7 separate regions of the Homo sapiens genome follow, and all the other regions are linked to region 3. The links are contacts of gene promoters, found by promoter capture Hi-C in blood cells and fetal thymus (Javierre and others, 2016). All regions are on one chromosome and are shown on one strand. Each heading gives the region's core, a stretch centred on a gene start or on the middle of the fragment in contact. The rest is flanking DNA. Distances are from core to core; before and after follow the strand shown. Region 1 overlaps KRABD3 (KRAB domain containing 3). Region 2 holds the start of TRC-GCA9-3 (tRNA-Cys (anticodon GCA) 9-3). Region 3 holds the start of ZNF783 (zinc finger protein 783). Region 4 has its middle 20 kb from the start of ZNF467. Region 5 holds the start of TRC-GCA19-1 (tRNA-Cys (anticodon GCA) 19-1). Region 6 holds the start of TRC-GCA23-1 (tRNA-Cys (anticodon GCA) 23-1). Region 7 overlaps KRABD3 (KRAB domain containing 3).

What was found. Contacts are between HindIII fragments. The CHiCAGO score rates a contact against its expected background, and 5 or more counts as called.
Region 1: a fragment that was not itself captured here is called in contact with the fragment with the promoter of ZNF783 in region 3 in 3 of 17 cell types (neutrophils, total B cells and naive CD8 T cells); the score reaches 8.5 in neutrophils.
Region 2: a contact is called between a fragment that was not itself captured here and the fragment with the promoter of ZNF783 in region 3, in 3 of 17 cell types (neutrophils, naive CD8 T cells and non-activated CD4 T cells). The highest score is 11.1, in neutrophils.
Region 4: a fragment that was not itself captured here is called in contact with the fragment with the promoter of ZNF783 in region 3 in 1 of 17 cell types (neutrophils); the score reaches 8.9 in neutrophils.
Region 5: a contact is called between a fragment that was not itself captured here and the fragment with the promoter of ZNF783 in region 3, in 1 of 17 cell types (neutrophils). The highest score is 9.4, in neutrophils.
Region 6: a fragment that was not itself captured here is called in contact with the fragment with the promoter of ZNF783 in region 3 in 1 of 17 cell types (neutrophils); the score reaches 6.5 in neutrophils.
Region 7: a fragment that was not itself captured here is called in contact with the fragment with the promoter of ZNF783 in region 3 in 1 of 17 cell types (neutrophils); the score reaches 7.4 in neutrophils.

The regions. Positions count from the first base shown.
Region 1 is chr7:149,715,397-149,719,438 of GRCh38, reverse strand. The region is part of intron 1 of KRABD3 (KRAB domain containing 3); the gene reads right to left. Among named protein-coding and RNA genes, the nearest start is that of KRABD3, 2.5 kb to the right of the region's middle. RefSeq lists an enhancer at 3,566-4,042. The HindIII fragment of the contact is 2,588 bases long and covers 496-3,083 here.
Region 2 is chr7:149,633,774-149,637,433 of GRCh38, reverse strand. It overlaps TRC-GCA9-3 (tRNA-Cys (anticodon GCA) 9-3), which reads right to left and starts at 1,747; the gene lies at 1,676-1,747. The HindIII fragment of the contact is 2,394 bases long and covers 1,121-3,514 here.
Region 3 is chr7:149,260,675-149,264,239 of GRCh38, reverse strand. It overlaps ZNF783 (zinc finger protein 783), which reads right to left and starts at 2,044. Exons shown (of 6, transcript NM_001195220.2): 1 at 1,883-2,044. The coding sequence starts at 1,906. LOC124901769 (a long non-coding RNA gene) reads left to right here and starts at 1,899. Exons shown (of 2, transcript XR_007060582.1): 1 at 1,899-2,593. RefSeq lists a silencer at 1,577-2,446. The HindIII fragment of the contact is 3,928 bases long and covers 1-2,861 here.
Region 4 is chr7:149,751,965-149,755,715 of GRCh38, reverse strand. No RefSeq gene overlaps it. Among named protein-coding and RNA genes, the nearest start is that of ZNF467, 20 kb to the left of the region's middle. The HindIII fragment of the contact is 2,790 bases long and covers 1-2,699 here.
Region 5 is chr7:149,612,626-149,616,602 of GRCh38, reverse strand. It overlaps TRC-GCA19-1 (tRNA-Cys (anticodon GCA) 19-1), which reads left to right and starts at 3,467; the gene lies at 3,467-3,538. It also overlaps the pseudogene ZNF767P. The HindIII fragment of the contact is 602 bases long and covers 1,741-2,342 here.
Region 6 is chr7:149,593,041-149,596,970 of GRCh38, reverse strand. TRC-GCA23-1 (tRNA-Cys (anticodon GCA) 23-1) reads left to right here and starts at 1,686; the gene lies at 1,686-1,757. It also overlaps the pseudogene ZNF767P. The HindIII fragment of the contact is 3,527 bases long and covers 40-3,566 here.
Region 7 is chr7:149,732,397-149,736,534 of GRCh38, reverse strand. KRABD3 (KRAB domain containing 3) reads right to left here. Exons shown (of 17, transcript NM_001290187.2): 17 at 1,960-3,329. The coding sequence ends at 2,488. Among named protein-coding and RNA genes, the nearest start is that of KRABD3, 20 kb to the right of the region's middle. RefSeq lists an enhancer at 558-1,474. The HindIII fragment of the contact is 819 bases long and covers 2,213-3,031 here.

The DNA of each region.
Region 1 (4,042 bases), core at 540-3,039, 460 kb before region 3:
ATAATAGCCAGGGTCTGACATGCAGGAATCCCCTCAAGAGACAGTGCTGGGGGTGAGCTGTGTCTCTGCAGAGACACGCTGAAGTCCTAACCCTCACGCCTGTAAGTAGGACCTTATTTAGAAACAGAGTCCCTGCAGATGGAATTACTTAAGATGAGGTCATACTCCTAAGTAGGGGGGACCCTTAGTCCAGTATGACTCATTCCTTATCAGAAGAGACACAGAGACAGACACAAAAGAAGAAAGCTGTGTGAAGACAGGCAGAGACTACAGTCATGCAGCCACAAGCCAAGGAATGCCCAGGGCCACCAGAAGCCACAAGAGGCAAGAAGGATCCTGGCCCAGAGCCTTCAGAGGGAGTGTGGCCTGCCCACACTGTGACGTAGGGCTTCGGGTCTGCAGGGCTGTGAGAGAAGACATTCTTGCTGTCCACCTAGTTTGTGTGCTGGGTTTAGAGAAGTGCTCAGAAGAAACCTGGGGTTGCCCTTGGAAGCTTTGGGTCACCAGGCTCCTTTACACCCTGTACTCCTATCTCCTATTCTCTGTACTCATCTCCTCCTACCCTGTGGCTTTTTAAAATAACACGAGCATTTTTGTCTATGTTTCTTTACAAAATAATCCTTCGGCTGGGTGTGGTGGCTCACGCCTGTAATCCCAGCACTTCGGGGGGCCAAGGCAGACAGATCACCTGAGATCAGGAGTTCGAGACCAGGCTGGCCAATATGGTGAAACCTTGTCTCTACTAAAAATGCAAAAATTAGGTGTGGTGGTGGGCGCCTGTAATCTCAGCTACTCAGGAGGCTGAGGCAGGAGAATTGCTTGACCTCGGAAGGCAGAGGTTGCAGTGAGCCGAGATCACGCCATTGCACTCCAGTCTGGGCAATATGGCGAGACTCCATCTCAAAAAAAAAAAAAAAAAAAAAAAGTCCTTCAGTGGACTTTAAAGTGGCCATCAGACACTAGAAAATGACCAGCATCAATAGGCTTGAATTTAAAATTATGGCAAAAATTAACTGTGCAAATTAAGCAAACAGAAGGTAAATTATGGGAAGGGTCCTTCCTGTTGAGAAATGAATGTTAAACTGTTTATTTGTGAGAACAAATTATTAAAGAAAATGAACACGCCCCTAATAAAGCAAAGACAATTCACCGCTTGTTTCATCTGCTCAGGGCAGTTATTTTAATTAATTAATTAAAAAAGACAGGACCTTACTATGTTGCCCAGGCCAGTCTTGAACTCCTGGGCTCAAGTGGTTCTCCCACATTGGTCTCCCAAAGTGCTAGGATTACAGGCGTGAGCCCCTGCACCCACCCAAGTCAGTGATTCTAAAAACTGTCCCAGGCTGGGTGTGATGGTTCACGCCTGTAATCCCAGCACTTTGGGAGGCCCAGGTGGGTGGATCACCTGAGGTCAGGAGTTCAAGACCAGCCTGGCCAACATGGTGAAACCCCATCTCTAATAAAATACAAAAATTAGCCAGGCATGGTGGTGGGTGTCTGTAATCACAGCTACTTGGGAGGCTGAGGCAGGAGAACCTGGAAGGCAGAATTTGCAGTGTGCCAAGGTCACAACATTGTACTCCAGCCCCTGTTTCAAGAAAAACAAAAAACTGTCCCTGCCACTAACCGGCAGCCTTGTTGTCCACTTACTGCCGGGCTCTCTGCCTGTTCTCCCTGAACAGCTGATAACTTGTCCCATGCAGTCACACTTACCAGTGCTCCCCTCTGGCCAGGCTGCATCTACACCCCTGGCAAGGGGCAGCCCCTCCCGTGACTGCCTGCCTGAGGCCCGGAGGCCCAGAGGCTGATGGGCAGTGAGATGCTGCAGCCTTTGCCTCCTGCCTCGATGTGCAGACTCTCCCTGAGCAAACCTCTGTGGCTCTGGCCCAGGTATGGTCACTCCCTCTCAGGAACAGTCTCAGACACCCTCCAAAACTTCTCTCAAAGAGTTATTTACATTTCTTCCTAGCATCTTGGAACAGAGAAAATGTAGCCAACATCAGGGTCTATGCAGAAGAGCGTGCAGAGCAGCCCTAGACCGCTGTCCTTAGGAAGGCCTGCTTGCCAGGAGGGCTCAGGCTGGCTTCCAGGTATTTAGGTGTCAGGAGGCTTCCCACCATTCCCTAAATGATGGGAGTGGCTCAAGGTGCCTAGGCTGAGCAAATGACGTGGTGTGTGCCACACCCCTGCTTTCCTTCTGGGAGTCTGGAATTTTGGTTCATGGCAGGCAGAGGGTTCCCACATGACATTCTGATGGCTCAACACAGAGCTGGCAAGGCAGGTCTGAGCTCTAGGTAAGAACATGATACCAGCTATGTTGGTTGCACTGGTACCACTGCTGACCTGATGTGGCCATTAAGAGGTTCCGGACCCAGAGACCGGGGCAGAGCACGGTGACTGGGGCCTAGCCTCAGGAGCCAGGCTGCCAGAATTCCAATCCCTGCCTTGTTTCATACTAGTTATGAGACCTCAGCCAAACCTAACCTATTTGGGCCTCAGTGAACTCATCTGTAATACTGGGATCATAACAACCTACCTCATAGAGGTATTGTGAAGACAAAACAAATACAGGAATAGTGCCTAGAACAAATGCGGGGACTATGAATATTAAGTGCTATGATTAGTAATACTGCAGCCAGACCTGTCTGCCTAATGCCCGCTTGCAGGTCTGAGCCTGCCAGCTGAGCTCTTCCACATACTGCTCCTGACCACCGGTGTCTCTCTCGCTCCAGACTAAATATATCCCAGCTCTTCCAGGAATCTGTAAGAGATGCTTTCCAGGCCTCTCACCATCTCAGCCTCAAGACAAACTGTTTTGTGATAAAATTCTTAGAAAATGAGAATGGGAACTGACTGTGGCCAGGGTAGGCGCTTCTGCCAGTGGCCTCCCTCTCCCCAGAAAAAGCAAAGAGTGAGGGTTTTGTGTGTGAGGGAGTGAGCAAGTGTGAGTGTGCAAACACCTGGGCTACAAAACTCATCTTCGGGAGGAGGAAGGCCACCACTGGCTGGCTCTGCCCACACACCACCGGCCTTCCTCCTCGGGCCCCACTTCACCTCCTTCCCCCAACCAATGGAGAAAAGCTTTCTGGGCTGACCCAGGACTCTTGTAACTGGGCAGCCTCCTAGCTCATAGCTGCACACTGGTCCTCCTAACATCACCCTTCCACCGTGTCACTAGCCCAGCACAAAAACTGCAGCTTCAGTGCCTGCTGGACCTGCCCCTCTCTCACAGTCCTTCCCAACCTAGACCTGCTCTCCCAGTGGGCCTCAGGCTCGGGCTCCCTGATCAGACCCTGCCACAGGACCTCTCAACCTGGAGGCTGTGCTCACATTGCCCTGGGCTTCTGGGAACCCTCCCTGCTCCTCTCCACCTTACAGTGACCTACCACTCCCCAAGGTCACTCCTGGCCACCTTCTCCATGAAGCTACGTAGTGTGAGGATATTCCCCTCATCAGATCTGAAAGGTCAATGGCCCAAACTCCTCACTTTACAGAACAGGAAACTGTGGTATGAGGAGGCCTTAGGATGGGGCCATGGGCATGTCTGAACCAGGGTGTCCCTAGGCTACTTAACTGTGCAGCCAGACCTGAAAAGGACACTTGACTGTCCCTGCCCAACAACATCCAATTTGCCTAGCCTCTCCCTTCTCCCCAAATGCTTGGGGGCACTAATGACGCCAAGGGCCTGGCACAGTGTTTGCTCTGCCTAGTCACACGCTGCCCCCCATCCATGGCTGCCTCGGACTGGCCAAAGCTCAGGAGCCACCACGGTTGCAGAACTGGCTCCAGGTGCCCATCCAGAAGAACGTGGAGCAGTTGCTGGTATCAGCACCAGATACCTGATACCTCACTGATATCAGCACCAGAGTTTCCCAGCATCGTCACAGCCCACACACAACCTAGCCCAAACGGTGCCCAGGCTGTCACGGCCTGGGGCTCTCCCTCCAGTTCTCAGATCTAAACGCCTTACCTGCAGGCTTCCCAAGACAAAACTTGGGGTTTGTTCTATCTTTGTTTCTCCCCATTTCCACGTCCCCAGCCC
Region 2 (3,660 bases), core at 1,068-3,567, 370 kb before region 3:
CTGGGCTCTCATGTGAAGGCTGGGGCATTTTTCAGGAAAGAACACCAATCCAAGAACTGTAGAGAGAATTTACGAGAAGATGTGGAGAATTCACAACAAACATCCAAACAAACTCTAAACTCTGCCAAATCTCCATGACAGCAAAAGCAGCCTCCTCTCCCAGCTGATGAAGTGTCTCATAGAACTCCCAGTAGCCCTGGCCGCTGCCCACCAAGTGCCAAAGCTGCCCACTCACTGTAGTAACAGAAAATATCTAGGGGCTTTCCCACCAATCGGGACCCCTGTGCCACAAGTCTGGAATCTACGTGGCCTTTGACTACAGCAAGGGACAGCACCACGTGTCCCTGTGGATGTGTCTTGCCAGGGAAGGTGCCCGGTTTGCCTGTGTTCTCACGTGCCTGGGGCCGTGGCTCAGCCACTGGAGGGAGGGATTCCTCATCCCAGTTCAGAAGCCCCTTTGGGCCTGGGCTTTGGACCCCCAGACAGACAGGCTTACGCCCAATCCCTATCCCTCATATGTGCTGACCTGCTGAGTGACACCTTCTGAGACAACTGGGCTGCTCACCAGGAGGGCAGCTTCCACCTCCCCTAGGGTCAGCCCTGCAGTCCAAGGCCTTGAATTTGGCCTTGGGATAAAAGAGGAGGAAAAGGTAGAAAATAGAAAAAAAGGGCCAGGGGGGTGGCTCGCGTCTGTAATCCCAGCACTTTGGGAGGCCGAGGCGGGCGGATCACCTGAGGTCAGGAGTTTGAGACCAGCCCGGCCAACATGGCAAAACCCCGTCTCTACTAAAAATACAAAAATTAGCCGGGCGTGGTGGCGCATGCCTGTAATCTCAGCTACCTGGGAGGCTAAGGCAGGAGAATAGCTTGAGCCCAGGAGGTGGAGGTTGCAGTGAACAGAGATCGTGCCATTGCACTCCATCCTGGGCTACAGAATGAGCTCCATCAAAAAAAAAAAGAAAAAAAAAAAAGAAAAGAAGCAAAATCCAGCCATTGTCTAAAGGGTGAGGGTGAGGGTGGGGTGGATGGGGTTGATTTTAGAATAAATGTCCATGAGGAAGAGGCAAAGGAAGGAGAGATGTAGTGGATGATCATTCCAGCAAGAAGTGATGTCAAAGCTTACGCACTCAGCTTGAGACAGAAGGAGGAGAATGGACCACACAGTACAAAGGAGGCTCTGGGACTCAAATGAGGGGTCAGTGGGAGAGGGATAGAGCCAATGGCCAGAGAGGGTTGGTTGGTATGAGATAGGTCTGCTAGGACATGGGACCTGACCTGGAGTAAACAGAAACTATTGTGGGTTTCAGGAGGATCCCTCCCTTGGGCAGGCGACATCCTTAAGCAGTGTCCATTGGGAACTCATCTGAAGTGGGTTTCTAGCTCAGAGGAAGAGCATTTGCCTGCAGGTCAAGAGGTCCATGGTGCAAATTTAGTGCCTCTTAGTGCTAGACTTTCAACTGGAAGTCAGTTGGGTGATTTCCGGGGACCGGGGTGGGCGGGGGAGGGGGTGCAGGCGGGCATCTCGTTGGGCCTGTTGAGGGCTCAGCAGATGGGGAGTAGGAGCAGAGGGGGCAGCAGGCCTGGTCATATCTTGCCCAGGGTTGAGTTAATAGAGAGAGCCCGAGAGGAGCATGTGATCCAGGACCCACTTTGGTGATTAAAAGTGAAACAGGGTAGGGGGCACCTGGATTTGAACCAGGGACCTCTTGATCTGCAGTCAAATGCTCTACCCCTGAGCTATACCCCCAGGCCCAGGGAGAGGGTGTAATTAACACCCTTTTCATGTGTCGACACACCAAGAACACGACTCAGCTCTGCAGGTTGGGATGTCCAGGCCAGTTCTGTCTCTCTGAATTCTGGCCTCCCTCCTGTCACTAACACTTCTTTTCCCATCGCTTCTGTGTGGACCTGGCTGAGGACACCCTGGTGGCCTTGTTGACCTTTATGACTGGAAAGACCCTTCAAGTCATCCAGATAATCCTCTTTGACAGTAGCAGTTGTTGAGCATCATGTGAGGTGTGCTAGACTGGGGACAGAACTCTAACTGGGTGACACCACCTTCCCATGCACTGCAAGGAGGCCCAGTGCCTGTGTCTGGGACTTGTATTTGACATACAATACTGTTCATGATAATTTTCCAAGTGATAAGCAAATTGCTTTTGTAAAAGAAAGTTACTTAAATAATAATACTCAGTATTACAAAACCATGGCACATATATACCATAGAATACTGTGTGGCCATAAAAAAAGAATGATAATAGACCAATAGTTAATGGTAACCCCCTGGGAGCAGGTGAAGAAACCAGGGAGCGGGTGGGGGAATCTTCTCTTTTCCGATTTACATGTGATAACTCAATGTCCATGTTTCCAGCCTTCCAGGTACTGAGCCTTCTGGGTGGTTAAAAATAAAAGAGAGAAATTGATAAAATATTCCCCAGGAAGTCTTCTCTGCCTCCTGCAGCTGGCATTGTCCTAATTCCTCCTCCTTCTTCAGATCCTCCCAGGCTTTCTCTCATCCAGTTCCTCTGCCCCGTTCCTTCCAGGCAGCTCTCATCCCTCCCAGTGTTCAGCCCCTCCCCTCTGATGCTGTCACTCTTTTTTCACACAGCAGTTGTCCACTGTCCACCCGGCTGGAACATCACCATGGGGGTGGTGAGTCTGAGGGCAAAAGGCACCCACAATGGGCCGGGGCATCCCTGCTGCCTGTGTCCTGTGCCCAGCACCCAGGCCCTGACCCCCTGTCCCTCAGCCACACTTGAGTTGAGTCCCACAGCACCCCCTTCCACACGTGCCTTCTCCACCCTGACCTACTGCCTCCCCAGAGGCCTCTCGGATGGTGAGGACCTAGTATAGTCAGGTAGTACCATGCCCAAGGAGGTGTATAAACTGTGCAGGAATCAGTAAAAATAAAAATGCCAATGCTGCCCTCCCGAGTCAGCTGGGGCTTACAATCAGGTCAAAATGATGGTGTCAGCATTATTAAAGGCAGAGAAAGGTCTTTCTAGTCATACCTCGAGGAAGACGATCAAGGAAGGGACAAGTCCCCTGCTCAGTGATAAAACCACATATACAGCAAGAGAAATAGACAAGTCGTCTTCCCTGTATGAGAGAGATGGCTGAGTTGGGGTGGGGGCAGCAGGGCAGTTGCTAGGAAGCCCTCCTGAAGAGCAAGAAAGAGAGCAACTAATGCAGCTCTTGTACGAATCCAATGGCCCCTGCATGAAGAAGGAGGAATCTGAAGCCCTCTCTGCCTGAAATGGTCCTACGACCCCAAGTACCAGGCGAGCTCCTGTCTTCTCAGTCTGGATCTCACTGTGGTGGCCCTAAAAAGAGTCAGTGACTGTCCTTAGGAGATGGCTTCCTGCATTGAGTGTGCCTGTGGAAGTAGCCAGCTGGTGTGCAGCTCATGCTGGAGCGAACATCAACAAGGAATCAACTGCACACTGTGGCCACCCTACCCCAGAGTCCCCTCTTCCTCCTACATTAGAATTCCCCTCGGAAACTGCCCTAAGCTTCCAATAGGGAAATTACATAAATTACTCAGACCAATGTGCTAACTGTAAGGAGACTAGAAGGTTAGCAATAGTTGGAGTCCTTGTACCAGCATACAGACAATTTTACATGGCATGGGAACTCCAGGCATGACTGACCTTGCCAGGG
Region 3 (3,565 bases), core at 795-3,294:
TAACAATTACTGAACACCTATCATAGTAAATGTACAGTGAAGATGAAGAAAAAACTGATGTGGTTCTTCCTTCTCCAGGAGAAAAATTCTGTATAGGAATACTTATAAACAACAACAGTGTGATAGGATGGGCTAACAAGAGTCCAGGGCAAATCTGTCCCTTTTGGGGAGTTTTTTGGGATCTCAAGTGCTGCAAGAAGGGAGGAGCAGGTGGACAGGAGTGATCTGAAAGGTAGTGAAGCAGTGAGCCCCAGGCTAGGGGGAGTGGATGATGTCACCTTCTAGGGCCCCCTCTTCCCAGGGAACAGGACTATAAACCTGCAGAATCCTCAACGCTTTTTCTCTCCCTTGCACTCAGGGAACCCAAAAAGAAGCTCAGCACACTCACTAAGAGGAGGGAGAGGAAGTTATACTTTAATAAAAGTATCCAGAAAAATCAAGGTTTCAAAACCTTCACTGAGGTGTATTAATAATAGTAGGTATCATCTATTGAGCCTTTACAAGCGTTTTCCAGTATGTCAAAAATGGCCAAAGGATTATAATCTCCCAATTGGACATACTGCACTATATCAAACCAAGATTCTAAAATCTGCTAAACTGGCCTAACTTATATAGATGAAGATGCCAAAAAAACTGATGTGATTCTTCCTTCTCCAGGAGAAAAATTCTGTATAGGAATACTTATAGTGTATTCTTATGAATAAACTTATTCATATAGATATGTATCTGGACAGATAGATAGATAGATATAAATGAGACAGGCACCTGCGCCTGTAATCCCAGCTACTTGGGATTGGGAGGCTGAGGCAGGAGAATACCTTGAACCCGGGAGGCAGAGGCAGAGGTTGCAGTGAGATGAGATCCCGCCACTACACTCCACCCTGGGTGAGAGTGAGACTGTGTCTAAAAAAAAAATATATATATATATATATATACACACACACACACACACACACACACACACACACACACACGTATATATATATACTTTTTTAATTAAAAAATTTTAAAATGGCCGGGCGCGGTAGCTCTCGTCTGTAATCCCAGCACTTTGGGAGGCCGGGGCGGGCAGATCACGAGGTCAGGGGTTCGAGACCAGCCTGGCCAACATAGTGAAACCCAGTCTCTACCAAAAATAGAAAAATTAGCCAGGCGTGGTAGCAGGCGCCTGTAGTCCCAGCTACTTGGGAGGCTGAGGCAGGAGAATCCCTTGAAGCCGGGAGGCGGAGCTTGCAGTGAGCCGAGATCGTGCCACTGCACTCCATCCAGCATGCGCAACAGAGCGAGACTCCCTCTCAAAAAAAAAAATTAAATAAAATCTGCTACAGTAATCTTTTTTAAAAAAATCTACTATCTCTCTTGTAAACGACACAATCTTTCTCTTTGGCAAAAGTAGAATATGAGGCGTTTTAAAGTGTCTAATTCCAAAATCCCTGCCCCGGCGTGAGGCTCCCGCCTCTAATAGATGCGTGACCCTGGGCCTGTCCCTTCCCATCTCAGCCTCCGCTACTGTCCCGTGGGGCTGGCGGCCCCTGCCCGCCCAGCCTGCTGTAGGGGGGGCCGCGAGGCCTCAAATGGGACAATACTCCTAAGGCGCGGCCTCCTCGTCGCCGAGCGTGACTCTGGGGCCCGGCCTGGCTGAGGCCGCAGATGGGCCGGATCGTCAGCCGCTGACGTCGGGGCCCCGCCCGCCGGGCCTGGCATTTGGGCCGCCCGGTCAATGCCTTCGACGCGGGCTGGGCGATGGGCCGGGGGCAACGAGCGCGGAGGCTGCGCGCAAGGCCCTCTCACCCCGCGGCCTCGCGCGGCCAGAGTCCCTCGCGCGGGCTCACGCGGCGGCGGCCTGGGCCTTCCGGGCGTCCGCGGGGCCGAGGGCGCTTACCCGGGCAGGCGCCGCTTCGGCCATGGCTGCCCGCGTCCCTCGCTGGGTTGCAGTCCCTGGACCCGGCCTGTCGGGCCCGGGGCGGCGCGGCAGCGACGGCGGAAGCGGAGCGGGACCCGCCTAACCTGAGAGCTACTGCCGGGCGGCAGCGAACTGCGTCCCGAGCCACGTGCCCCGCTGGCCCTTTAAAAAAGAGCTGCGCTCGGCGGCCGAGCTTGAGGACGCGCACAGCGCCCCCTGCAGCCCGTAGGACCGCACGCCCGCGGCCGCCGCCCCGCGCCCTCCCGAGGCCTTCAGCGCCCGCGGCGTCCGGGACCCAGGCGCGGCCACCCACCCTCACCCGGGGCGCGGGAGTTGACGCCAGGGCGGGCGTGCCACGGCCTCCAGCGGGGCTACGTCAGGCGTAAGCCACTCCCGGGCCAGCGCGGCGCCCAACCTCTCTCTGCGTCCCACGCGGGAGCCGGGAGGGCTGCGGGAAGGAACCGCGCTGGAAAGTGCGAAACCTCGCGAGGGAAAGCTGCGTGGGGAACGGGGTCGGCCCTCGCCGGGGCTCCAGTCCGGACCGAGACTCTGTTGCAGCGCCTCCCACGCACCACAGAACTGAGTTGGGGAAAGTAAAAAGGATACGTGTGTACCCAGGGAGAAGCCAGGGAAACTTACATGAACGTTTTTAAAGTCTCTTTTAAATTTGACAGAACAAACGTGAAGATGGTAGGATTTTTTTTTTTTTTTTCCTAAGCCTGCCCTCCCCTCCTGAGGACTCTGGGGTCCCTTCCTCCTCCCGGGGCCCGCCTGGTGAAAGTCCTCAGCCACCCACGAGGACCCTTCTGTAGCTTTGGTCCAGGCTGAGATCACAGCAAGTGTGAATCAGTCCATCCCTCATTTAGGCCCTGAGGCATCTTGAATAAACCGCAGGACCCATTTTCCTCGGCCTGTGCTGAGGCATATTGAACTAAATGTGCTGTATGCAGTTGAAGCTTTGTTTTCTGTCTTTTCTGCATTTCCCATTCATCTCACAGTCTTTGTCCAACAAGCTGGCAAACTCTTCCCGCTAGAAATCTGCAGTTTTGTTTCTTTCTGTGTTTGGGTTTGTTTGGGGTTTTTTGGTTTTGGTTTTGTTTTTTCTTTTTTGGGGGGGGGGGGTGAGGGTGAGAAGTTATTTTCACAAATATTTGAGCCAAGCAAAAGCGTGGTCAACTATCAGAAAAAACACAAACTGATATCCTAAGTAAGGTGAACCCCAAAATTTGCGGAAAGGTTAGGACGTGTTACTTTAAGGTAACAAATCAAATAAATATTTGGCATTATTCATTTTGGAAATTCTTGTTGAACTATCCCAATCTAAAACACAAACTGCAAGTATGCACTAAAGACATTAAGAGCATCCCTAGGATCTTATCAGGGATCAGTCCAATCTATTCAGGATTATAAAATACCAGTAAATGGTGACGTTATAGAATAACAGTTAAGGTCCAATGCAAACAGAAAGGGTCAGGAAAATGGGCCAGGAGCCGTGGCTCATGCCTGTAATCCCAGCAGTTTGGGAGGCTGAGGCGGATGGATCACCTGAGGTCAGGAGTTCGAGACCAGCCTGGCCAACATGATGAAACCCCATCTCTACTAATACAAAAAATTAGCTGGGTGTGGTGGTGAGGTACTCTGGAGGCTGAGGCAGGATAATCG
Region 4 (3,751 bases), core at 55-2,554, 490 kb before region 3:
CCAGGCAGTGCAGACAGGTACAGCTCTGAGAGAACACCAGGAAGGAAGGGGGAAAGGAAGGTAGCAAAGTCTCAGGATGTGTTTATGGGGCAGGCAGATAGCAACCTGGGAAGAGGGTCGAGGCCTCACAGACTCCCAAGACACTGGCCAGCCTGGGCCCAACTCCAAGCCACAGTCTCTGTGAATTGCCTGAAAATTGTCCTGCTGACATTGCTGCCCCCTGCACACAGGCAAGGGGGGAGCTGTGCCATGTGGCACTGCGTTCACCGAAGCTGCTGTGTTCGCTTCCTGAGGCCTCCTTTACAAAGTGCTACACACTGCATAGCTTCAAAACAGCAGAAATCTATTCCTTCACGGTCTGGAGGCTATGAGTGTGAAATCAGGTGTTACACTCCCTCTGAAGGCTCAAGGGAAGACTCTGTTCCAGGCCTTTCTCCTGGCCATTTCTTGACTTATAGACACAGCACTTCAATCTCTACCTCCATCCTCCCATCACCTTCTTCCTGGGTCTCCTCCACTCTGGGCATGTCTGTGTCCCTCCTCTTCCTATAAGGACAACAGTCATATTGGAGAACGGCCCACCCTAATGACCTCATCCTGATTTTATCCGCAAAGATCCTATTTTCAAGAGGCTATATTCATAGGTTGGGGCCAGGGCTAGGACTTCAACACAACTTTTTGGACTTCTTGGGGGGCGCAATTCAATTCATAACAGAGACCTTGAGTAAAATACTGTGTCAAAGTTGGGGGAGCTGAGGCTGAAATGAGGGCTCCTGGTATTGGGAGGGAATGGGGCAGTGCAGCTCTAATCAGAGCCCATGAGAGTGGACCTGTGGGTCCAGGCAGCTCTTACCCCAGGAGCTCTTGGATCCACCCTGTGCTATGTTTTGGAGATGTGTCATATCATTCAAAAAAGCCAAAAGAGGCTGGGCACTGTGGCTGACACCTGTAATCCCAGCACTTTGGGAGGCCGAGGTGGGAGAATCACTTGAGGCCAAGAGTTCAAGACCAGCCTGGGCAACATAGGGAGACTCCATTTCTAAAAAAAAAAAAAAATTTAATTACCCAGGCATGGTAGCAGGCCTGTAGTCCTAGTGACTCAAGAGGCTGAGGTAGGAGGATGCCTTGAGCCCAGGAGTTTGAGGTTACAGTAAACCAAGATTGTATCACTGCACTCCAGCCCGGGTGACAGAGCAAGAACTTGTCTGAAAAAAAAAAAAAAAAAGATAAAACATAAACAGTTTTGCTTTGTGTTACTTTATTCTTCGTGTGATTTTTAAATTTAAATTTTTCCTAGTCCTATAACAGTAAAATAGCTTTGATAGGACAGTAAACAGTTGACTTTTAGGAGACACTAAGAGCAACTGGGAACTCAGCCTTTTTCCATCAAACATGACTGTTTTGTTTGGTGTTTCTGTAAACTGTGTTTATGTGTCGGGGGTGGTGGTGTGCACACCAGGATTTACTTGTAGAGAGACATAGATGAAGGAAGGAGACAGCCTCCCGAGGAAGATGTTGCCTATGCTGGGGAGAGGGCTTGAAGGGGAGCCGGGGTGGGGGTTGGCGAGGTGGGTTGAGGGTGGGAGGGCTTCTGCTAGTATGTTCAGGGAGACAGATGGGCCGACTGAAGGCAGACAGGTTGGTGAGTGCGTTCACGGGACATGCTGGTTTCCAGTAGTGAAAGATTCTTTCTGCTCCTGGGACTCAAGAACCTGCTCGTAGTTGTTAACTCCAGGGTCCTGGGGAGGCCACCCATGCCCCACAGGGAAGAAAACTTCTTCACTCACTTACTGATCCTTGAAATGTCTTTTAACCAGAGACAAGTCTTGTATTTCACAGTCAGAGGGAGTATGCAAGACCCCCAGAAGAGGGCGCACGGCCACAATTCCACGCTGGTGGAAGGACTGGAATCCTGTCCTTCCCTGGGAACCCTCACCTGGGGAAGGATGAGTGAGTGTCACACTGAGGCCTCCCACAGTGGAGAAGCAGCAACGGAGAAGGAGGCCCCAGGAACCCTAAAGACAGAGACTTTAAGGTCGGGAGGGTTTCACAGAGGCTTTAGGAAACAGATTTATCCAACTGCCACAAAGGACTGAGCCTTCAGGCGTGGGATTAGGTCAGCCTTGGGGCAGGGGACATTCTTGGTCAATAGCAGGACTTTGATTTACGTAACGGGCTTATGCAATGTCATTACATAACATCATTAGGGGCATCGCAAATCGGATTCTATTTCAGGCTCTACAGGAGCCAGACCCAGGGCTCCCCTCCGGCCCAGCAAGACAGGATTCCCGTGGGCCCAGTGTCCCTGTCCTCGCTGGGATTTTCTCTCTTGAGATTTCACTGTGGGGCTTCCAGGAGAACTCCTAAGGCCTCAGGATCCTCTTTCTCCAGAATGATGGAGCTCGCGTCATAGCACGCTCATCCTTTGCAGATGCCTGCCCTGCTGCCCCTGCTGCCCCTGACCCTCCCAGTACTGTCCCCCCAAGCCCAGGCCAGTGGGCAACCTTCTCCTATCAGGTCCCCCTCTGACTTCTCCCCAACTCCTGCTTCCCCATCTATCCTCCAACTGTCAGGCTGATCTTCCTTATAACTTATTACGCCCCAGCTTAGAAACTTCTGCTCATCTGAATATCCAGAGGCCTTAGCGGTTGACACATTGTGCCACATTATTCTGTGTGTCCCTCTGGGGGTGGCAAGCTTCCCTGGCACAGAGCAGAGTGCCCACCTAGCCAGTGTGCAATACATGTCTGTTCTAACTCAAGGCTCTCTACAGTTGGCCCCAACAAACTTTTGAAACTTATTTTCCAAACCTCCTGGGTACACACCCTCCCTTACACCAAGCGGTCTTGTTCCTGTCTCCGGGCCGTGTGGTCCTTCCTGCCTCCTGCCCCGGCCTCCCTGGGCTTCCCCATCACAAAGTGCCTACTGCCCTGACTTCCCTTTTAAATCCTACCTATTTTTCGAGCACAGATGGGGGCCACCTCCTGGGGGTGTCCTTCCCCAATGATCCCAGCACACAACAATCTCCTCCTTTAAGCTGTCATGGTTCCTCTGCTTCCCACCTTACCAGATGTCGCCTGCAGTTGTTGGGTGTGTCCGCGTGTGCCTAAAATGTGTGAGTGCCTCCTGTGACTGAGGCTCCTACTTAATTCCCCTAAGCCCCCTTTGGTACGGGGTTGCTGTCCTCACTTCTCAGGTAAGGAAACCGGGGTTTAGAAAGGTTACACCCTTGTAGGAGCCTCATCTCTCCAGGCCCACTGGGAACATCTCGAGGGCGGAAGTCGTGTTTTTTTGTCTTGGTATTTCCAGGACCTGGCACATTTGAACACTCACAACACGTATGTTGAATTGTACAGGTGGAAGAGGAGCCTTTACAAGGCCTACCCATCTCAAAATCCCTCCCCTACCGGATAATCTGAGTGCCTAAAATCCACCCCTGCAGAGTTATAGCTGTGAACTAAGACAGGGTGACAGCAAACACAAATCCCAAAGTTAATAAATTCAGCGATCTATTTTTTCATGTGGCTGCTGAGATGGTTAAAGCTAAACTTACTGCTCAAATGCAATTATGTGAGTTAGATATCTGGTATGTTTCACATACTCTGCATGTCCCATTTAAAGCCTCACTGTAATATACCACCTTCGTTGGCCGTTACTGCAAAGTATATGTATTAGATGAGAAGAGAGCTACCTGAACTAAGAAGAGAGCTGAGAACCACACTCAGGAAAGCAGACAGAAAGGGGAAAGCAG
Region 5 (3,977 bases), core at 792-3,291, 350 kb before region 3:
AATGGTCTGTCTTCTTACTTGGCCTGTTCGTAACACTTGCCATGTTGCTCACTTTCCTCTCACCTGCCACCCACCTTCACTGCTCTTTCTTCGCTGGTTCCTGTTGCCCTGTGGAGCCTCTCAGCCCTAGAGCGCCCTTGGTTCTCACACCCGCTCTCTACTTGCATTTCCTCATTCCCATCGTCTCCCAGGGTCTTGGGGCCACACATACCATCTAGGAATGTGTGCCTCAAACCTGGGTTTTTGCCCCAAATTCCGCACATCTAGCTGCTTGGCCTGTATCTCCACCTCAGTGTCTCATAAACTCCCCCCAAACATTCCCAGCGCTGAGCTCCTGTCTTCTCTGAATAGCCTGCTCCTCCCACATTCTCCCCAACCCAGTAAATGGCCGCTCCATCCTTCCATTTACAGGCAAAACCCCACGAGTCCTCTCTGACCTCCTCCTCCACATCCGCATCCACTCCACCAGAAACCCTACTGGCCCTCCCTGCCAGGTTTGCCCAGAGTCTGTCCACGCCTCATCCCCTCCACTCTGACACCCAGGCTTATCGTCTCTTGCTGAGGTTGTTGCCAGCCCCTGCCCTGATCCCCCAGAGTCTCATCTCAGCCCAGCAGAGTAATCCCTTTTAGACGCAAGTCCTGGCTTTCCATCTGACCCGCACTATTGGCTCACCTCCTCCACTTTTCTCTCACTCTGCCCAGCTGCACCATCCCTGGTGGTGTCCCCTCCACCCTGTGCCAGGACCTTCGCAGTGCCCTCTGCTGGGAGTGCTCCTCAGGCAGGTCCCACCTGCAGGCCTTTCCTGTCATCGGCACTGCAGCCCCTCCCCACCCAGGACTCCGGGCCTACTTTCCTGCTTTCGGTCTTCCGTGTCAGACAGCGTCACATAATATATATATTTCCTATTTATAGATTTCATCGTATGTCAGGTCTACCTCATTAGAATGTCAGTTTCAAAGTACAAAGACTTTTTAACTGTTTTCTTCATATATTCATTCTAGGCACCTGAGATATTGCTGAGCATAGAGTAGGAATTCAGTAACTATTTGCTGAATGTATGCCATGCTTTGTAATTCAAAATGTGTGTGTGTGTATGTGTGTGATGTGTGTGTGCGAAATAATGGATTTTTGATATCATTTAGGTCTCCCAGACCTCTGTAGGGCAGCCGCTTGTCCTGAATTGTCTGTTTATCCTTTCTATCCACATTTTTTTTTTTTTGAGCCGGAGTCTCTCTTTGTCGCCCAGGCTAGAGTGCAGTGGCACGATCTTGGCTCACGGCAACCTCCGCCTCCCAGGTCCAAGCAATCCTCCTGCCTCAGCCTCTGGAGTACCTGAGACTACAGGCGCATGCCACCAAGCCTGGCTAATTTTTTGTATTTTTATTAGAGACAGGGTTTCACCATGTTAGCCAGGATGGTCTTGATCTCGTAACCTCGTGATCCACCTGCCTCGGCCTCCCCAAAGTGCTGGATTACAGGCGTGAGCCACCGTGCTCACCCTCTATCCACATTTTAAAATGTCTACTGTGTGCATTGGTAGTTGTGAACAATATATGGATTTTTGTGTTTTGAAACATTACATAGATGTCATTATATTTATCACTCATTATTCTGTATTTCAGACCTATCCATGTTGATACATGTAGATCAAGTTTATTCCTTTTAACAGATGCTTAATATTCCAGAAGCAACTATATTGTAACTTATTTTCCATTCCTCCACTGATTGGCACTTAAGCTTTTTTTGATTTTTCACACTCACAAGCGATACCGTAGTGATCATTCTTGGGCCTGTCTCTTTTTGTGCCCCTGTGGGGATGCTACTCCAGAAAACAGACCCAGCGGTGGCCTCACCATATCATAGGCTTGCTTGATTTTGTCTCTGCCATTGCCATATTGCTGTCCCCAGAAGTACCCCAGTGCCACCAGGTGCGCCTAGCAGCAGCTAGCTATGAAGAACCTGTTTCTTTATGTCTGCCCAGTTTCTATAATTACATTTCTGCCAACCTGATGGGGAGAGATCCTTGTCTTAATTCAGGATACTGGAGGCCTGAGCTTCAGAGCTCAAATAGCCTTCGTGCCTGGTCCTGGCTCTGCCAGTTGTGCTGAGCTAATGGTTTGGGGCTAGCATGGGGCTGGGTCCCCTCTGTTAAGGTGGTGTCTCCCTTTTAAAGGGAAGGACTAGTAAGTGAGGAGAGGGAAGAAGAGAAGACAGTCAAAAAATGTAGGCCAGGGCCCAAAGTAACCCCACTGTGCAGAGGGTGAAAGTGAAGTGGAGAGAGAGTATGGGATGTAGGTAAGAGAAGATAAAACTAAAGTAGGAGAGAAGGAGAGAGGAAGCTTCCAGCTCTAAACAGGAGTTCTCCAAATTGTTGCCCCACACAGGGACTGAGGAGGAGGCTGCAGGATTCTAGGCAGGAAAGATTTCTAGAAGTCCTCTGATAGGTCCATGGGGAAGGACAGGGTAAGTTCAAAGCCAGATAGAGGTCTGTCTGAAGGAGGTCAGTTGCCAGTGGTTCACTGAAAATGATGAGAAATTACAATGTCTATTAGATCCTTGGGCGTGGGAACATAGGTGAAACAGTGTCAATCAGGAAAGTCTAAACAGTTGAGAGGGCACCTTTTGGGGGCAGAGCATCTGGCTGCATATCTAGTCCCTGGTTCAAGATGGTGTCACTTGTTGGCCCTTCCTTTCACTCTGCCCACGTGTTTGCAGTCACTCCGTCCTGTGTCATGTCTGTGACCACAGATTTCTCTGATTCTCCACTTCTCCACTTTTCCATGGATTGGATCTTGTCTTCTGGTCACTACTTTTATCTGACACATTGTGGGATTCAGCGAATGGAGGAGAAGAGGAAAGAAGAGGAAAGGAAAAGGCAGTTCAACTCCTGCCTCAGAGTGTTCAGTGCAAAGAGGCCCTTTATCATGAATGTGGATTCTAGTCATGACTTGGTCATTAATCAAGTGTGTTTTGTTTGGGCATGATTTTAATTACTGTCATTTTTTCTAGATCTATACCATGGAAGGGAACAGATTAAACCAGTGTTTCCAAACTGTAAGTCAGAATGGTGCAGGGAGTTGGTTAGAAGCACACATGTCCCTAGGTCCTTTCCCAGATAGTGTGGCTTAGGAGTCCTCAAGTGGGGCTCAAGAACTTTTGCTTTTACCCAGCTCTGCCCAGCCCAGCCTCACCTTTAAAGGGTCTGTTGAGCAACCAGTTCTTTTGAGTCCCTCTGTTCTAGGCGAGTCTGAAGGATGTTCTGGCTGCAAACCGCAGTGATTTTAATGTCCCTGCCTTCAGTCACACACTGGAGAAGGAAGGATGCTGGTTGTAAGTAGAGCTGGCAGGCAGGTGTGGAGTAGGAAGGGGGTATATCGTGACGAAGCAAGTACATATCTCATAATGGTGACAGTCAGGGTGTGGCCATACAGGTTTATAGTTCTTATTGGAGACAGGCAATTACATGGGGGTATAGCTCAGGGGTAGAGCATTTGACTGCAAATCAAGAGGTCCCTGATTCAAATCCAGGTGCCCCCTTCCTGTTTTCTTTTGTTGGGGTGATCAGACCCAACACCAGGTCATGGGGGTGACGAAGTCCAGCAGAGTCAAAGGAATGAGAAAAAGACAGTTTGAAAGAGAAAGTGGGACCAGAGGGCCATGGCGAGTCTGGAGGCTGCAAAGGCCCCAAGCATTGGGAGCACACGCTATTTATTGGTGCTCAAACAGGTGGTGAGGATGTGGGGATTGAAAGGAAACAGTGTATCAAGTGAATGAGAAACATTAGCATAGTGGGAGTGCTAGAAGCAAGGAGCCAGCAAGTCTAGCCAGACATGCAAGCCCTGCCTCAGCTTCCCTCCCAACATCTTTTCACTCACTGATCATGATAGGATGTTCTACTCTTAGCTGTTCTTCAACACACATGGATTCATTCTGCAAAGCAGGAGAGAGAGGAAGCAGGTCAGGTCTTCACTAGAAA
Region 6 (3,930 bases), core at 554-3,053, 330 kb before region 3:
CTGGCTGGCATCTGGCGTGTGCCCCTCTGAGACGAAGCTTCCAGAGGAAGGAGCAGTCAGCAGTCTTTGCTGTTCTGCAGCCTCTGCTGGTGATACCCAGGAAAACAGTGTCTGGAGTGGACCACCAGCAAACTCTTAGCAGACCTGCAGAAGAGGGGCCTGACTGTTAGAAGGAAAACTAACAAACAGAAAGCAATAGCATCAAATAAACGAAAAGGACGACCACACAAAAACCCCATCTGAAGGTTACCAACATCAAAGACCAAAGGCATTTCTCTATTTCTCTTTCTTTCCCTTCTTTCACTCCCTCCCTCCTTCCCTTCTTCCTTCTCTTTTTTTTCTTTTGAGACAAGGTGTTGCTCTGTCACGCAGGCTGAAATGCAGTGGCATGATCATAGCTCACTACAGCCTCAAGCCATCCCACCTTAGCCTGCTCTATAGCTGGGACTCCAGGTACATGCCATGACATTTCACAGGACATATCCACAGAAAATTGTGGCATTAGCATGATTTGAGGGTGAGATTTTTGGCCCTCTTATATCAAAAGGCCACCTCTCAGGCACTTGCTCAGACCAGTTGAAGAGTCAGTTGTCTAAACCAGTTTTAGCTGGACAGGAGCTGGCCCAAGTGCCTGAAAAACAACTGAAGTGACCATCACCATGTGACCTACGTAAGTTCTATAAAGCCTCCCATGAAAGTTAAGTTTCTGCATTGAGCATTGAGGCTTTCAGGTACGGTGGCCTTCAGCTTCGTGGAAATAGGGAAATAATAACAACAAAAAGCAAGCAGGGCAGTTGGGCCTGATCAGATTAATCCCTCCATTTGAAGGCAAGCAGGAAACAACCGGCCTTGGGGGCTCAGGGGTTACAAGGCACAAGTGAACCACTTGGAAGTGGCCCTGGATCTTCACTTATTTTTGCATCTGTGACCTTCACCATGAGACTTTGCAGATCTTCCCACTAGAGGTGGAACATGCTTCCCTGCTCTTGAGTTAGGGCTTGCTTCTCTGACTTGATTTGATCAATGAGATGTTAGCACATGTGATGCAAACAGAGGCTTGAAAGCTGCTTGCATAGTTGGGCCTCCCCCTTTGCATTTCTGCTGTCACCACCAGAAGAGTGTCCCCTTGCTAGCTGCTACTCCTCCAGCTGGGATTGTGGAAGGAACACACATGGAGCAAACTTGAGCCCGGCTCAGACAGAAACCAAGCACAGATGGACCCACAGCTTGAAGCAGACCCAGCCTACATCAGCTGATTGGCATCCATGCTGCTGACCTATCAGCACGAGACATGCTTATGGTTTCATACAGCCTAATTTTGGGATGATTTGTTGTGACACATTGTTGTGGAAATAGCTGACTAATACAGCCTTGATTCTTACACCTGCCTCTCCCCCAACCCTCATCCCCTATTCCCATCAGGTACTGAGTAAGGGAATGGGAGGAGATAGTTGAAGGAGTTCAGGTTGTGGCTACAGAGTAGGAAAGTACCATTAGACCAGTGAAGGGTCTCTGGGAAATGGAGGGGTGAACTCATGACCAGAAGGGCGGTCTCTAGTCAGTTGTGGTAGAGTTGCCAGTTTCCATAAGCTGGCTGGGAATGAATACAATTTATAGTGCACTGTAGAATCCTTGGGTGTGGCAACACAGGTGAAATATGCTAAGGAGGAATGTCCACCAGGCAAGGGGGTATAGCTCACAGGTAGAGCATTTGACTGCAGATCAAGAGGTCCCCGGTTCAAATCCGGTTACTCCCTGCTGCCACTTACCTGTGGGTTCTCTTTTCCTGATGTTGAGCTTGCTAGTCATCCTCACCACTGTTCTTCCTATAGTTCGTGTCAGTTTTCTCATGACTTCATTTTTCTGGCACAAGTCATGATCAAGTCAGTAATAATCTGCATGTGCTTCAAAAGTTCTAATTAGCTGCTCTTCTTTGAAGTTTATATTATGGCAGGACAGCCTGAATTAGAGGTTATGTAGTCTGACTTTGCATCAGCATTACTGACAGAACATGTCAAAGATACAGATTACTTCCTAGAAATTCCAATTTAGTAGGACTGAGGAGGAATCAGAGAACTTCTACTTTTGGGGGTTGTCTGGGGCATAATCCCCTGTTAATACCTGTTCTAACATCCAATAATTCCAAGTGGCTGGAAAATTGTTTTGGAACTTACAACAACTTGTCATTCTAAACAACATCCCAGTGGGAAGCATCAGTGATGTTCAAGCTAGTGCCTGCCTTCAGTCCATCACTGAGGGCATGTAGGGTGCTGAGCTGCAGGCATAGGCAAGTGGCCAGGTATGTAGAGGTGGGAGAGTGTGGGAAGGTGGGGGATGTCAGAATGAAGCTGTGGGCATGGTAGGAGGGTGACCAATTGCAATGGCACAGTCAGCTAGGGGTGGTGGCAGGCCATGAGTGATTACTCGACTCCCTGCATTGAAGTTCAGAATTAAAGTGTACTCAGGCTTCAGTAGTTGTTTTTGAGTAAAGCATTTGATTGATGATCCACAGGTCCCTGACTCAAATTCATGTGTTCCCTACCTACACTAATTTCTTCCCATACTGACCAGAGTATTCAAAAATAGTTTCGTTTCACCTCCTGAGGCCCCTGCACCTGACTCTTCCTGCAAAGAGGACGAGAGGGTAAGGAGGTTGGTTTGTCCCATGCTCCTCTCTACTTTCCTGCTGCCCCACGTGACCTGCCCAGATCTGCTCTGCACGCCTGATTCAGTCTTGTCTTGCTTTGCTTTGGTGAGCATTTCTCTTGTGTTTTCTTTTTTGTTTTTCTTCCTATTCTTCCCCACCCTGTGAACCCTCTGTCCACATTTTGAGGATCCCCAGTTGTGTGAGGCACAGTGGAAGACATGGCTCTGCTTGTAGCCCTCGAAGCTGCAAGGAAGGAAAAAGCCTCTTTCTCTCTTTGTCTTCCTGGCACTTCTGGCCACTCAAGTGGCCCTGACTGCTACTTACTCAGCTAATGCTCCAGAACCGAACACTTTCTATCAGGGAAACAAGTGGCAAACCTAATCTTTTAGGAAGAGACAAAGGCAGGGCACAGGATGAGGGGAGGAAGAGGAGGACACTGAGAGGGAAGGCAGGAGCATGGTTGACCCTTGAACAACACAGGGGCCAGGGGTGCAAGCCCCCAATCCCATGCAGCGGAAGGTCTACATCTAACTTTTGACTCTCCAAAAAGTTAACTAGTGATAGTCTCCTATTGACTAGAAGCCTTATTGACAATATGAATAATCAATAACATGTATATTGTATGCTCTATGTATTATATATTATATATTTACAATAAGCTAGAGAAACTTTTTATTAAGAAAATCATAAGGAAAAGAAAATATGTTTATTACTCTTTAAGTGGAAGTGAGTCATAGTAAAGGTCATCATCCTCATCATTAGCTTCAGATTGAGTAGGCTGAGGAGGAGGATGAGGGGTTGTTCTTGCTGTCTCAGGTCGCAGAGGAGAAGGAAATTCACTTATAAGTGGGTCTGCGTAGTTCAAACCCATGTTGTTCAAGGGGCAGCTGTGGATTGAAGACAAAGTTAATTCAAAGCTTTGCAAAGAGTCCACCTTGCCTCCGATGACTAACGTTAATTGATGAATTAATTAATTTGTTTATTTGAGACAGAGTCTCGCTCTGTCATCCAGGCTGGAGTACAGTGGCGCGTTATCGGCTCACTGTAACCTTCACCTCCCGAGTTCAAGCTATTCTCCTGCCTCAGCTTCCTCAGTAGCTGGAATTACGGGTACTCGCCATCATGCCCAGCTGAGTTTTGTGTTTTTATAGAGATGAGGTTTCACCATGTTGGCCAGGCTGGATTTCAACTCCTGACCTCAGGCCATCCGCTCGCCTCGGCCACCCAAAGTGCTGGGATTACAGGTGTGAGCCACCGCGGCTGGCCTTAACCTTAATTTAAAC
Region 7 (4,138 bases), core at 1,373-3,872, 470 kb before region 3:
ACTGCTTCTGCAGGAGGAACGCAGCTGCAGACCATGGAACTTCTTACCACTTATTACTTAGAATCCACATTCTTAAAACAACTTTAAACTTATTATATGGTCCAACTGGGTCTGGACCACCTAGACCAGGCTCAGTCCTGAATACCCTGGTCTGTCCCAGCAGGCAAAGGCTGGGAGGGGGCATCTGTGCCCAGGGTGAGGATGCGCCGAGTGCTGGCGGCACTGGTGAGGGCTCGAGCTCTCTTCCTAGCTCTGCTGGTTGAAGGCTGCCTAACTGTGACAGTCACTTACAGCCACCATGCTCATTTGTTCAGTCGTGCCTGTCAACTAGGGTTTGCGTGGTGGCTGTTTCGGAAGCCAGCAAAGCAAAACCACCTTAATGTGCCACACAGAAGTGTAAGGTGACCCCCCCTCCCATTGAGTCGACAGCCCAGTGACCCCTGCTTAGAAGGGAAAGGAGAATGGGAGGACAGGCAGGCACGATGGGACTGCACCAGCTGCAGCAGGGGTGGGCAAGAGTCCTCTCCTCACAGCCAGAGTCAGGGCAGGGGCAGTTTCGCTTCTCAACCCCCCTCTGAAACTGTGTCCCACCCCTTGCCGTGGCTCTGAAACGTGCCCGGCACTGCTCCCTGCTTATTAGAAGGAGAGCTCCTCAGGCAGGAGCAACCTAGAAACTTTCCCTTCCTGATTCTGTGCAAGCACGGCTGTGAGCGAACAGCCTCCGTATTTCAACAAACATCCTACTTGTATGGTCTTAGGATCTGTTTCCAGACAGTCACCTCGGGGCTCACTCTAGTCCTGAAAGCATCTTCCCATCCCTTTGTGATGTTCAGTCTGTTGCGGGCATTCCCCTCTGACAGGTGTCCTTGCCCTGCTGCTTCTACAGGGTGGCAAAGAGCAAGGGCTTCAGCTCCCAAGCTCAGCTGCAGGGCACTTAGGCCCCGAGTGTGTCCCCAGTGACCCTGACTTGAGGGACACACTGGGCGCTGCAGCCACAAGGCACTGCTCCTGTAGTCATGGTGGGCAGCCAGCATTGCCCCAGGCCACAGTGCTGGTGTCCCAGGCTCCTCAGGGACCTGAGGACAGGGCCAAGTGTGCCAGTCCACACCAGGCTGGCCCTGCCAGTCCACACCAGGCTGGCCCTGCCAGTCAACAGGTGCACATACAGGTCCTGAAACCACCTCAGGTCAAATAAGGGATTTGGGGGCACACAGGTTGCATTCTGCCTCTTGGGAAGATGATGCAAGGGAATGACAGGCAGGCTGGTTCCAACGCATTGCCAAGCGCCAGCTGAGCGGGCTGGGAGCAGGCACATTCCGGTAACCAGGACAGAAGTGGGCTAGTGATACCTGGTCATGTCTTTTCCCAAGACAAAACCAGGAAGACTGGCCCAGCCCGTTTGGTGTGTTACAGGCTGAACTGTGCCCCTCCCCAAATGTGTATGGTGAAGGCCTAACCTCCAGTACCTCCAAATGTGACCTCACTTGGAGAGGGGGTGTTTAGAGAGGTAATCAGGTTAAAATGAAGTCATTAGGGTGGGTCATAACCCCATACAACTGCTGCCCTGATATGAAGGGGAAATCTGGAGACAGCTGTGTAGAAAACACCATCTGAACAGGAAGACAGCCATCTACAGGTCAAGGGGAGAGGTCCGGGACCGATCCTCCCTCCCAGCCCAAAGCAGGAACTGAACCTGACACCTGGATTGTAGACTTCTGGCCTCCAGGACAGAGACAATATGTGCTGCTGTTGAAGCTGCCCAGGCAGGGTTCCTCTGTGAGGCAGCCCCAGGGGACTCAGAGTGTGCCCCAGGAGTCCTGTGGGAATTGCCCCACCCTTCCTGGCACACTCCTGAATGTTCTCGAGGATGTCTGGGAGACGAGGCAGCGTGCTGGTGGCACAACCAGCCCCGCCCCAGCGTGGGCCCACATGGACCTCCCTTCTATAGGAGTCAGGGCCTTCCTTAGCAACTCACTTCTTTAATTTCAGAATCCACAGAGGTAAGTCCAGCTTAGACCAGGGGGCTGAGTTCTCTCAAATGAAATCTGTGCCAATATTTACTCCAGGAAGGCAAGAGCCCAGCCCTTCAAGGCTCCTGAGATCAGGAACGGCTGGTGGTTAGGAGGCGCTCTCCTGGCCGCTCTAGCTGTGTGGGGCACCCCCTGCATATGTGGGGCACACGTGGCCTATGCACACCACCCACCTACAAGCTTGGGCGGCTCCAGTGGGAAAGACAGGAGAGGGAAGCAACATTTGATTGAATCTGAGCCAAGAGGGCCAGAGGCTGAGGAAGGCACCCCCACAGCAGCCTCCTGAGCAAACAGCACCTGGGGGCTCTACCCAGTTGGGACAAAGGGCGAGGCTCCCAGCAACAGTAAGGGAGATGGCGTCCTCTGGGAGAGGGTGGCCTGGGGTGGGGTGACAGGGCTTCCACGCCACCACTGCACCCTCGGCAAGAACGAGCAGATGTGGAGAAGAGGAATGCCATCAATGCGCCCCCCATCTCGGGTCCCTGTGCTCCCCACCCCACAGTTCTTCCTGGAGGGCCCTCTGCACTCCTCCCAGCAGGCTGCTCGGCTCCTTGGGCCGCTCTGGGATCCCGTCTGGTGCCACTCCTGAGGTCGGCACGTCTGCATCTGCACTGGCTGCAGGAGGAGAGGCTCCCTGCAGGGGTAAGGCAGCAGGCACTAAAGGGGGAAGGGGGCTCTGGTGGCCCCCGGTATGTGCGAGGAGGGGGTGTGCAGGCGGCGCAGCATGGCAGCTGGGTGTAGAGGACAGCAGCTGCTGGGAAGAGCTGCAGTGGAGCCCAGGAGGTTCTGCCGGGGGAGCGTCTGGAGGCAGCGGACGTGCCCGGCGAGCGGTCCCTCTGGAGAGTCCTTGCAGGTCACCAGCCCTGCAGCTCTCTCCCTGGCCACGCAGGATCTTTGGTTTAGGCCTCGTGGGTCCCTTCTGCCTCCAGTAGGGCAGATGTCTGTGACCAGGGCCATGAGCCCAGCGAGGTCCCCGTGGGAGGGTCCACATCCAGGAAGCTTGGCCCATTGGCCCAGGGCCTTGGGGGCGCCTCCCCAGCCGATTCACCTGGGTCCTCATGGTGGCCACTTCCTGAGCCAGGCCTGCCAGCGCTGTGGCGAGCCGATCCAGCTTCTCCGCAAGGGCAGCACCGAGGCTGTGCAGCTCCTGCTGCAGGGGCTTCCCACAGTGGCATGGCGGCTGCAGGGAGGAGGCTGGCAACACAGGAGGCGCAGCTTCCGGAGGGGGCAGCTCCGGAGGGGGAGACTCACTGGGCAGCTCAGGCGGGCCCTGGGGGAGCAGCCTCTCATGGGTCTTGGCTAAAACCAGAGCAAGGACCGGTCAGAGTTCCTGGTTTGTAAGGACCTTTCTCTCCCCAGAGGTCCCATGAACCAAGGGCGCTCAGTACTCTGCCTCCTCCAAGGCCCAGCTTCCAGAAAGGAAGGAAGGTGGGTGAGGCCTGAGAACGCAGATGCCAATGCTTATGGCATGAAAACTGGCTATGTCTCCTGGCTGTTCCCCAAACTGATGGGCAGGATCAACCACAGGTTGGGTTTCCGTGGTAACCAGGCTTTCCTAAACTGCGGTCTTCCCACCTTCTAGGAATCGGTGGGTCTTTGTGTTGTTGATGAGACCAAATGGCACCCTGCCCTAGGAGTCAGTGAGAAGGGTCCAGAGCCCCCGAGACAGCATGAGGCCAAGGCCGTGGGAGCACCAGGAGATGGGCCAGGAGGGCCAGGCAAGCCAAGGGCCTTCTGCGCATTTTTTGTGGGGTGACCCTGGGGCCACTCCAGAACTCAGTGCTCTTCGTTACAGGCAAACCACAAGGGTTCCCACCCCCTTCTGCTTTTACTCTCCCTATTGAGAAGTTACAGATTCATAGGAGTCATAAGCTTTTTGTTTTTTTTAAAAAAAGATCACCTAATCCTTCGCCCTAAATTCCCTTGGAATTGGTCCCAACCCTGGGCAAACCACAGGAAAGGCTTGGCCAGGCACCTGCCATTCCTAACCTGTTCAGCCCCAGGCCGGGCGCAGAGATGGTTTCTTCCCTGTTTCTCTGGGCCCCCAGCTGTGGCTCTGCCCTGCTCTTTTCGGCACCTCCAGGGCTTTAAACCGAGGAAAAAGTGAA